Linked DNA regions of Homo sapiens: region 2 is linked to region 1. Evidence: promoter capture Hi-C in human tissues and cell types (Jung and others, 2019). All regions are on one chromosome and are shown on one strand. The core of a region is centred on a gene start or on the middle of the fragment in contact, and the rest is flanking DNA. Distances in the headings are between cores, read along the strand shown. Region 1 holds the start of PRLHR (prolactin releasing hormone receptor). Region 2 has its middle 64 kb from the start of PRLHR.

Region 1 (5,403 bases), core at 1,464-3,963:
TCCAGTGAGGAGAAGAGGGAATGAAGCCCTAATAGGCCACATTAAATCTTCATTCCCTCTTCAAAGGACAGCTGTTCACTTCCTTTCCACCTTGCAAATATTGATAATACTAAAATGCTTGCCCAACTTTATCTGGAATTTGGCAAATGATCCACTCTTTCCTCTGGAGGGTGCCCCAATATTGAAACTTCAAATATCCATGTTTACATGACCTTCAGTTATTGACAAAGTTGTCTTCGTATTATTACTTTTACTATTATATATGATAATTGACCAATATAATGATATTGACCAGAATGATGGCTCTAGTTAGGAGGCCTAACAACATCCCAAATCCTTTTTCACTGACTTTATCGCAATTTCCTCTGCTTAAGAGATTTTGAAACAAAAGAGTGCCCCTGCTCTTGGGTGCATAAAACCCTGCAGGTGAAAATGATGAGAAAAATTACTGGGCAAGGTATTAGGCAGGCACTGATTGTATCCTATTTAGAGCTCTGCAATTAAAAAAGTATATATAATACTGAGACTGGGTGCAGTAGCTCATGCTTGTAATCCCAGAACTTTGGGAGTCTGAAGCGGGAGGATTGCTTGAGCCTAGGAGTTCAGTCAGCCTGGGCAACATGGCAAAACCTCACCTCTACAAAAAATTAGGCCAGGCGCAGTGGCTTACGTGTGTAATTCCAGCACTTTGGGAGGCCGAGGTGGGCGGATCACGAGGTCAAGAGATCAAGACCATCCTGGCCAACATGGTGAAACCCCGTCTCTACTAAAAATACAAAATCATCTGGGCATGGTGGCACGTGCCTGTAGTCACAGCTACTCGGGAGGCTGAGGCAGGAGAATCGCTTGAACCTGGGAGGCAGAGGTTGCAGTGAGCTGAGATCACACCACTGCACTCCAGCCTGGCGACAGAGCAAGACTCCGCCTCAAAAGAAACAAATAAACAAAAATTAGTCAGGCATGGTGGTGTGCACCCGTAGTTCCAGCTACTTGAGAGGCTGAGAGGTGGGAGGATGGCTTTGGCCTGGGAGGTTGAGGCTGCAGTGAGCCATGATTGTGCCACTGCACTCCAGCCTGGGTGACAGAGTGAGATCTTGTCCTAACATATACATGTATATATACACACACACTGGTTTTAGCTAAATTGATTATAACTCAGGGACCGTGAGCTTAGGATGGACAGAGGTGCATAACATTGATTACTTTTGTTCCAATATTGACTTTTTTCTATATGAGTGATTCATTTAAATTTGGAGGGTGGAATAAATTGATATTAGTTTCCAGTCTAACTGGAATATCTGCAGCCAGAGGACAAAGTACAAGGACTTATCAGAGAGGAGACAATGAAGCTCCATGCTCTGGAAAAAGGAAACAAGAGGCTGAGGGAATGAGATAGCTTCTAAGGAGGGAGCTTACAAAGGCCCCTCCTCCCCTGGCTCTTGCCCCGTGGGCCAGGCTAATTTGCATTTCAATGAGGACTTAATACTACTGAAGATTTTATGAAACGCCTAAGCTTCTCAAATGTTTGTTACTTTTGTTACCCTAGCTGAAATCTGCAATTACCAGTATTTTTAAAAAATCCTAAAATGAAGAGAAGAGGCCTGTGGGTGTTCAGTCAAGGAGGGAGGGGTCAAGTCTCAGTCCAGGAACTACTCTGTGCTGGGAGAAGCAGCCAGATACGGCACAGGTCGCGGTAGCCGAGAAAGAAAGCGAGAGAAAGGGTGAGCCGGGGAGTCGCTGGGCCAGACTGAAGTGTGCCTGTGTAGAATAACTGGCAGGAGAGCTGCATTTTCTGACCCCGGGAGGTAAAAGACGACGCCGTCCTTGGCACTGAGTGCGGTGACCACCAAGAGGAGCAAAAGTCATGAGTCTCCGACCCCCAGGCCCCCGGCTCAGCTGCCTCCACTCCACCCTACTCTTCTCAGCCCCAGCCCAGAAAGCAGGCAGCGAGGCAGGTCTTTGAACCGGACCAGGTTCCTTCCCCAAACACCCGGATCCAGAGAGGGGCAGGAATTCCCTAGTCATTTTCCCCTGCTCCTCCCCACATCATCCGCCCGAGGGGCGGCAGATCCAGCGGAAGCTGTCCGTGGTGCTGACTCCTGCCTTTGGCTTGGCCGGACCCGCTGCCCGCTGAGCGCGCTGCAGCCAAGCAGGGGGCTCGTGTGGCGGGGCCACGGGAGGGTGAGGGTCCTCAGGTCCGCGACCAGCTCCAGGCTCTGCTGTTAAATCCCAGCCCGAGCCCTCTAGCGTCTCTGCCCTCCGCAACCTGGCCGCTAGGCAGGATCCAGCCTTTAAGAACGGGTCAGTCGTGCCTCTCTCAAGCCCCCAGCTGCATTGCAATCTCCCACCGCTACTTCCTTCCCCGCTCCTTCCCTCCTAAGACTGCACCGGCTCCTCCCGATAGCCTGACGCTTCGCGCCTCTCCTCCGCCCTCCTCCACTGTGCGCTCCTCCGGACCCTGACCCTCCAGGGGCCGTGCAAGCTCCTGCAGTAGAGATTCGTCCTCTTCGCTGCTCTGGCCAGGTTTGCCGGCCCCTCCTCCCGTTTCGGATTCCATCCTCCCCACACTGTCCTCTTCACTAGTTCTCTAAGCACCGAGCATGGCAGAGCGCGCTCCACCCCTATTTTCCATACATGGGAGCTGGAGTGGGGGGCGGAGCTGAGGGGAGGCGCTCCCAGTCCCTCTAAGAAGCTGCTAGCCCACTGGGAAACATTTGGATCCGTTCAGCTCCCGCGGAGAAGCGAGACCGGATCACCGACGTGGGCAGAGGACTACCGAGGGCCAGCAGAAATTCTGCCCCTTCTTCCCGCGAGTGCTTTCCCGCTCTCCAAACCCCACTCCCAGGTAGGATCGCGCTCCTGAGTCTGCCTGCGTGGACTGCGAGGACCGTAAATAGAGGCGGAAGCGTTTAAATAAACCGTATGTTCTAACCGTGCTTAGGTTTATTTTACAGAGGTGAGAGGACAACACTTTTTGCTACTTTTGCTGTTGTTCTGTGGCCGGTTATTCCCAAGGGAGGACTCAGGCGATGGGGGAGGGGCGCGGCTGGTGTAGGAGGTCGGATGGAGTATGGCAAGGGAAGTGACGGACTTTGATTACCTTTGAACAGGTGGCCATGGCCTCATCGACCACTCGGGGCCCCAGGGTTTCTGACTTATTTTCTGGGCTGCCGCCGGCGGTCACAACTCCCGCCAACCAGAGCGCAGAGGCCTCGGCGGGCAACGGGTCGGTGGCTGGCGCGGACGCTCCAGCCGTCACGCCCTTCCAGAGCCTGCAGCTGGTGCATCAGCTGAAGGGGCTGATCGTGCTGCTCTACAGCGTCGTGGTGGTCGTGGGGCTGGTGGGCAACTGCCTGCTGGTGCTGGTGATCGCGCGGGTGCGCCGGCTGCACAACGTGACGAACTTCCTCATCGGCAACCTGGCCTTGTCCGACGTGCTCATGTGCACCGCCTGCGTGCCGCTCACGCTGGCCTATGCCTTCGAGCCACGCGGCTGGGTGTTCGGCGGCGGCCTGTGCCACCTGGTCTTCTTCCTGCAGCCGGTCACCGTCTATGTGTCGGTGTTCACGCTCACCACCATCGCAGTGGACCGCTACGTCGTGCTGGTGCACCCGCTGAGGCGGCGCATCTCGCTGCGCCTCAGCGCCTACGCTGTGCTGGCCATCTGGGCGCTGTCCGCGGTGCTGGCGCTGCCCGCCGCCGTGCACACCTATCACGTGGAGCTCAAGCCGCACGACGTGCGCCTCTGCGAGGAGTTCTGGGGCTCCCAGGAGCGCCAGCGCCAGCTCTACGCCTGGGGGCTGCTGCTGGTCACCTACCTGCTCCCTCTGCTGGTCATCCTCCTGTCTTACGTCCGGGTGTCAGTGAAGCTCCGCAACCGCGTGGTGCCGGGCTGCGTGACCCAGAGCCAGGCCGACTGGGACCGCGCTCGGCGCCGGCGCACCTTCTGCTTGCTGGTGGTGATCGTGGTGGTGTTCGCCGTCTGCTGGCTGCCGCTGCACGTCTTCAACCTGCTGCGGGACCTCGACCCCCACGCCATCGACCCTTACGCCTTTGGGCTGGTGCAGCTGCTCTGCCACTGGCTCGCCATGAGTTCGGCCTGCTACAACCCCTTCATCTACGCCTGGCTGCACGACAGCTTCCGCGAGGAGCTGCGCAAACTGTTGGTCGCTTGGCCCCGCAAGATAGCCCCCCATGGCCAGAATATGACCGTCAGCGTGGTCATCTGATGCCACTTAGCCAGGCCTTGGTCAAGGAGCTCCACTTCAACTGGCCTCCTAGGGCACCACTCGAGGTCAATCTGGTGCTTATTCTCAGCACCAGAGCTAGCTAAGCCAACATAGGGCAACATTTCCAGCCCAGCCCTCTTGTCCGGCTGTCTGTCTTGTCCTTGTGTGTTTGTAAAATGTTAAGCGGGCTTTGGTGAGAGTCTTGCTCTTTGCTTGGGGGAGGCCAAAGAGAGGGAAGAGGATTTCTTATTTCTTCTTTATGCCCTTGAAGGACAAACAAAACTTTTTCTCCACGTTCAGAAAAGTATTTCAGAACCACGATTGCCTTCCTGGCGTCCCCTCCTCCTGCTCGTTGGTGAAATGAACAATATGAATGGGATTTAAAAGGAATGCATTGGGCTTGGTAAAGATTTTCAGTTTGCCTTTAGAAAAAGGACCCAGCTGAGAGTACCATGATATTGCTTAGTCCATTTGAACCCTTGCATTCCTAGAATTTCAGGTAAATATGTATTAAAACTCTACATCTAGGATTTCAGCATTTCCTGAGTAAGACCTTTATATGCCAAAAGGGTTTCGTTTTAAAACCACTTGAGTTTATAGTACAAAAACACCTACAAGCTCCCTTTAGAAAGGTCTTGCTATTGTTTCTCCCCTTTCCTCCCCAACTACTATTTAAAAATGATGAGACGAATTAGTCAATGAAGAGATAGATAAATAAAGAGGAAAAGGTCCAATTCACTTAAGAGGTCATTCAATTGTACCTAAGGACAGACATCCTCTGTGTATGTGTGTTTGTGTATGTGTGTGTATGTGTGGGTACACATTCAGTGTTTGCCACAAAGTGGGCACTCAAATATTTGGTTTTCTGAATACTCAATGTAAACTGTGTAGCGTGGCATTCTCCTGCAGTCTCTAATTGCTCACTTGCAACAGATCAACAGCTGTCATCTGACTGCTCAGCACCTGCTCTGTAGTGATTCTTGGAACATGATCAACCCAGAAATCAAGGACCGGCAGAAGTTTACTTAAGGACAGAACAGAAGAATAAGCTACCACCCACATGATGTGTAGATCAAACACTAATTACCTCCAGGGTTAAGGGAAAAGGTGAAGACTGTGGAGCATGATACCAGGCTGATAATCATCACCTTAACCTCCTGTGAGTTCTGTAAAT
Region 2 (5,403 bases), core at 1,072-3,571, 64 kb before region 1:
AATTCTGGTAATACGACAAAACAGTGTTCTTTAACACCTCCAAAAGATCACACTAGCTCACCAGCAATGGGTCCAAACCAAGAAGAAATCTCTGAATTGCCAGAAAAAGAATTCAGAAGGTTGATCATTAAACTAATCAAGGAGGCATCAGAGAGGGGTGAAGTCCAACTTAAATTAAAAAAAAAATGACACAGAATATGAATGGAAAAATCTCCAGTGAGATAGATAGCATAAATAAATAATCACAACTTCTGGAAATGGACTCCACTTAAAGAAATGCAAAATGCACTGGAAAGTCTCTGCAATAGAATCCAACAAGTAGAAGAAACAACTTCAGAGCTCAAAGAAGATTTTCAAATTAACGCAATCAGACAAAGACAAAGAAAAAAAGAATAATAATAATTAAAAAATGAACAAGGCCTCCAAGAAATTTGGGATTATGTTAAACAGCCAAACCTAAGAATATGTGGTGTTCCTGAGGAAGAAGGGAAATCTAAAAGTTTGGAAATCATATTTGATGGAATAATTGAGGAAAACTTCCCTGGCCTTGTTAGAGATCTAGACATCCAAATACAAGAAGCTTAAAGTACACCTGGGAAATTCATTGCAAAAAGATCATCACCCAGGTACACAGTCATCAAGTTATCTAAAGTCGAGATGACGGAAAGAATCTTAAGAGCTGTGAGGCAAAAGCATCAGGTAATTTATAAAGGAAAACCTATCAGATTACAGCGGACTTCACAGCAAAAACCCTACAAGCTAGAAGGGATTGGGGTCCTATCTTTAGCCTCCTGAAACAAAACAATTGTCAGCCAAGAATTTTGTATCCAGTGAAACTAAGCTTCATAAAGGAAGGAAAGATACAAATGCTGACAGAAGTTGCCACCACCAACCCAGCACTACAAGAACTGCTAAAAGGAGCTCTAAATCTTGAAAGAAATCCTCAAAATACACCAAAATAGAATCTCCTTAAAGCATAAATCTTACAGGCCCTATAAAACACATAACATAATGAAAAAAAATCCAAAGTATTCAGGCAACAAATAGCATGATGAATAGAAAAGTACCTCACATCTCAATACTAACATTGAATGTAAATGGTGTAAATGCTCCACTTAAAAGATACAGAATGGCAGAATGGATGAGAATTCACCAAGTATCTGCTGTCTTCAAGAGACTCACCTGACACATAAGGATTCACATAAACTTAAGATAAAGGAGTGGAAAAAGATATTCCATGCAAATGAACACCAAAAGTGAGCATAGCTATTCTTGGATCAGACAAAACAAACTTTAAAGCAACAGCAGTTAAAAAAGACAAAGAAGAACATTATATAATTATAAAAGGACTAGTGCAACAGGATAATATCACATTCCTAAGTATATATGCACCTAACCCTGGAGCTCCCAACTTTTTATTTTTTATTTTTTATTTTATTTTATTTTTTTGAGATGAAGTCTTGCTGTCACCCATGCTGGAGTGCAGTGGTGTGATCTCGGCTCACTACAACCTCCATCTCCCGGGTTCAAGTGATTCTCCTGCCTCAGCCTCCCGAGTAGCTGGGATTATAGGCAACTGCCACCACGCCCAGCTAATTTTTTGTAGTTTTGTAGAGACGGGGTTTCACTGTGTTAGCCAGGATGGTCTTGATCTCCTGACCTTGTGATCTGCCCATCTCGGCCTCCCAAAGTGCTGGGATTAAAGACATGAGCCACCGTGCCCAGCTGGAGCTCCCAAATTTTTAAAACCATTACTAATAGACCTAAGAAATGAGATAGAGAGCAACACAATAATAGTGGGGGAATGCAATTCAGTACACCACTGACAGCACTAGGCAGGTCATTAAGACAGAAAGTCAACAAAGAAACAATGCTCTTAAACTATACCCTAGAACAAATGGAATTAACAGATATTTACAGAACATTCTACCAACAACTGCAGTATATACATTGTTTTCTTCAGCACATGGAACATTCTCCAAGATAGACCATATGATAGGCCACAAACAAGTCTCAACAAATTTAAGAAATTGGAATTACATCAAGTACTTTCTCACACCACAGTGGAATTGGGAATCAATTCCAAAAGGAACCCTCAAAACCATGCAAATACATGGAAATTAAATGACCTGCACCTGAATGATCATTGTATCAACAATGAAATGAAGATGGAAATTTAAAGATTCTTTGAACTGAACAGTAATAGTGACACAATCTATCAGAACTCTGGGATACAGCAAAAGCAGTGCTAAGAGGAAAGTTTATAGCATTAAATGCCCACATCAAAAAGTCACAAAAAGTTACATCAAAAAATAGACAATCTAAGGTCACACCTCAGGGAACTATAGAAACAAAAACCAAACCCAAACCCAGCAGAAGAAAAGAAACAACTAAGATCAGAGCAGAACTAAATGAAATTAAAACAAACAGATTTCAGGATCGTGGCAGATGGGAGGCAGGTCTAGATTGCAGCTCCGGACAGAGCAGCATGCGGAGGCTTGCACTGAATTTTAGCTCCAGATTGACTGCAAGAACAAACCAGCAATCCTGAGAGGACCCACAGACCTTCTGAAGAAAGCAGACTGCTCCTGCAGGACCCATGGAGACACTGCAAATACTGAGAGTGCCCCAACTGTGGAAGTGGGAAAGGGAGACCCTCCTCTCCCAAACACAACTCCTCAACTGGAGAAGCCGAAGATCTGTTGGCAGGAGAAGTTTCCAACTTTACCTGGAGCTAAATCAAGTTAGAGAACCGAGCCAAGTGAAATACAGGGGTAGAGGAAGCCACAGAAAGGCCCTGGGAGCTTGCTGGGTCCCCAAGCAGCTCATCCCTGCTGGCACCACAGGGATCCATCAGGAGGGTGGCCAGAGGAGCAGGGGGTGAAACTCCACGGGGTGAAACTCCACAGGGTGAAGGAATTCTTTGGCTGAACTTTGTAACCATTTGAACCAGGCGAGAAGCCTCCTTGCCAGAACTGGAGGAAGGGTGTGAATCCTGCTTGCAGACCTCACAGGCAGGGGAAGAACTAAAGTCCTTTTCTTTCGCAGCTGGGAGGCAGAAAGCCTTGGGCAAGTTTTCAAGCCCATCTTGCCCTCTGCTTAGAAATAGACTCAGGGCTATTGCTGTGGGGGCACAGTGGGAGTGAGACCAGCCCTTCAGTTTGTGTGGGAGCTGGGTGAGGCCTGTGACTGCTGGCTTTCCCCCACTTCCCTGACAACCTGCATCACTCAGCAGAGGTAGCCATAATCCTCTGAGGTACACAACTCCAGTGACCTGGGAATCTCACTCCCATCTCCCACAGCAGCTGCAGCAAGACCTGCCTGAGGAGAGTCTGAGCTTAGACATGCCTATCTCCAACCCACCCGATGGTCCTTCCCTATCCACCTTGGTAGGGAAAGACAAAGGGCATATAATCTTGGGAGTTCTAGGGCTTCACCCACTGCCAGTCCCTCTCCACACTACTACAGCTGATGCTTTCTGGAAAGCTTCACCTCCTGGCAGGAGGCCAACCAGCACAAAAATAGAGCATTAAACCACCAAAGCTAAGGACCCTCATGGAGTCCATTGCACACTCTGCCACCTCCATCAGAACAGGCACTGGTGGCTGAGACCCTTAGACAGTTCACATCACGGGACTCTGTGCAGACAACCCCCAGTACCAGCCCAGAGCCCAATAGACTAGCTGGGTGGCTAGACCCAGAAGAGAGATAACAATCACTGCAGTTCAGCTCACAGGAAGCCACATCCACAGGAAAAGGGGGAGAGTCTACAGCAAAGGAACACCCCATGGTACAAAAAAATCTGAACAGCAGCCTTCAGCCCTAGACCTTCCCTCTGACAGAGCCTACCCAAATGAGAAGGAACCAGAAAACCAACCCTGGTAATACGACAAAACAAGGCTTGTCAACGCCCCCTAAAAATCACATTAGTTCACCAGCAATGGATCCAAACCAAGAAGAAATCCCTGATTTACCTGAAAAAGAATTCCAGAGGTTAGTTATTAAGCTAATTAAGGAGGGACCAGAGAAAAGCGAAGCCCAATGCCAGGAAATCCAAAAAATGATATAGGAAGTGAAGGGAGAAATATTCAAGGAAATAGATAGCTTAAAGAAAAAACAATAAAAAATTAAGGAAACTTTGGACACATTTTTAGAAATGCAAAATGCTCTGGAAAGTCTCAGCAATAGAATTGAACAAGTAGAAGAAAGAAATTCAGAGCTTGAAGACAAGGTCTTCGAATTAACCCAATCCAACAAAGACAAAGAAAAAAGAATAAGAAAATATGAACAAAGCCTCCAAGAAGTCTGAGATTATGTCAAATAACCAAACCTAAGAATAATCAACATCCCTGAGGAAAAAGACAATTCTAAAAGCTTGGAAAACATATTTGGGAGAATAATCGAAGAAAACTTCCCCGGCCTTGCTAGAGACCTAGACATGCGATACAAGAAACACAAAGAACACCTGGGAAATTCATTGCACATTGTCATCAGGTTATCCAAAGTTAAGGTGAAGGAAATAATCTTAAGAGCTGTGAGACAGAAGCACCAGGTAGCCTATAAAGGAAAATCTATTAGATTAACAGCAGATTTCTCAGCAGAAACCCAACAAGCTAGAAGGGACTGGAGCCATATCTTTAGCCTCCTCAAACAAAACAATTATCAGCCAAGAATTTTGTATCCAGCGAAACTAAACATCATATATGAAGGAAATATACAGTCATTTTTAGACAAACAAATGCTGAGAGAATTTGCCATTACCAAGCCACCACTACAAGAACTGCTAAAAGGAGCTCTAAATCTTGAAACAAATCCTGGAAACACATCAAAACAGAGCCTCTTTAAAGCACAAATCACACAGGAACTATAAACAAAAATACAAATTAAAAAGCAAAAACAAAAAAACCCAAAGTACACAGGCAATAAAGAGCATGACGAATGCAACAGTACCTCACATTTCAATACTAACATTGAATGTAAATGGCCTAAATACAGAACCTCAGAATGGATAAGAACTCACCAACAAACTGTCTGCTGCCTTCAGGAGACTCACCTAACACATAAGGACTCACATAAACTTAAAGTAAAGGCGTGGAAAAAGGCAATTCATGCAAATGGACAACAAGAGCAAGCAGGGGTAACTATTCTTAGACAAAACAAACTAAAGCAACAGCAGTTAAAAGAGACAAAGAGGGACATTACATAACGGTAAAAGGCCTTGTCCAACAGGAAAATATCACAATCCTAAACATATATACGTACCTAACACTGGAGATCCCAAATTTATAAAACAATTACTAATAGACCTAAGAAATGAGATAGCAACACAATGGTAGTGGGGGATTTCAATACTCCACTGACAGCTCTAGACAGGTCATCAAGACAGAAAGTCAACGAGAAACA

The links. The method cuts DNA at HindIII sites, captures the fragments that hold promoters and counts their contacts. A contact is called where the count stands out against the background at its distance.
Region 2: a contact is called between a fragment that was not itself captured here and the fragment with the promoter of PRLHR in region 1, in 5 of the 25 tissues and cell types used here (dorsolateral prefrontal cortex, liver, spleen and 2 more).

Annotation. Positions count from the first base shown.
Region 1 is chr10:118,592,958-118,598,360 of GRCh38, reverse strand. It overlaps PRLHR (prolactin releasing hormone receptor), which reads left to right and starts at 2,713. Exons shown (of 2, transcript NM_004248.3): 1 at 2,713-2,845; 2 at 3,111-5,403. The coding sequence starts at 3,117. The coding sequence ends at 4,229. RefSeq lists enhancers at 1,328-2,136, 2,137-2,945, 2,946-3,754. The HindIII fragment of the contact is 7,132 bases long and covers 135-5,403 here.
Region 2 is chr10:118,656,605-118,662,007 of GRCh38, reverse strand. No RefSeq gene overlaps it. Among named protein-coding and RNA genes, the nearest start is that of PRLHR, 64 kb to the right of the region's middle. The HindIII fragment of the contact is 3,219 bases long and covers 712-3,930 here.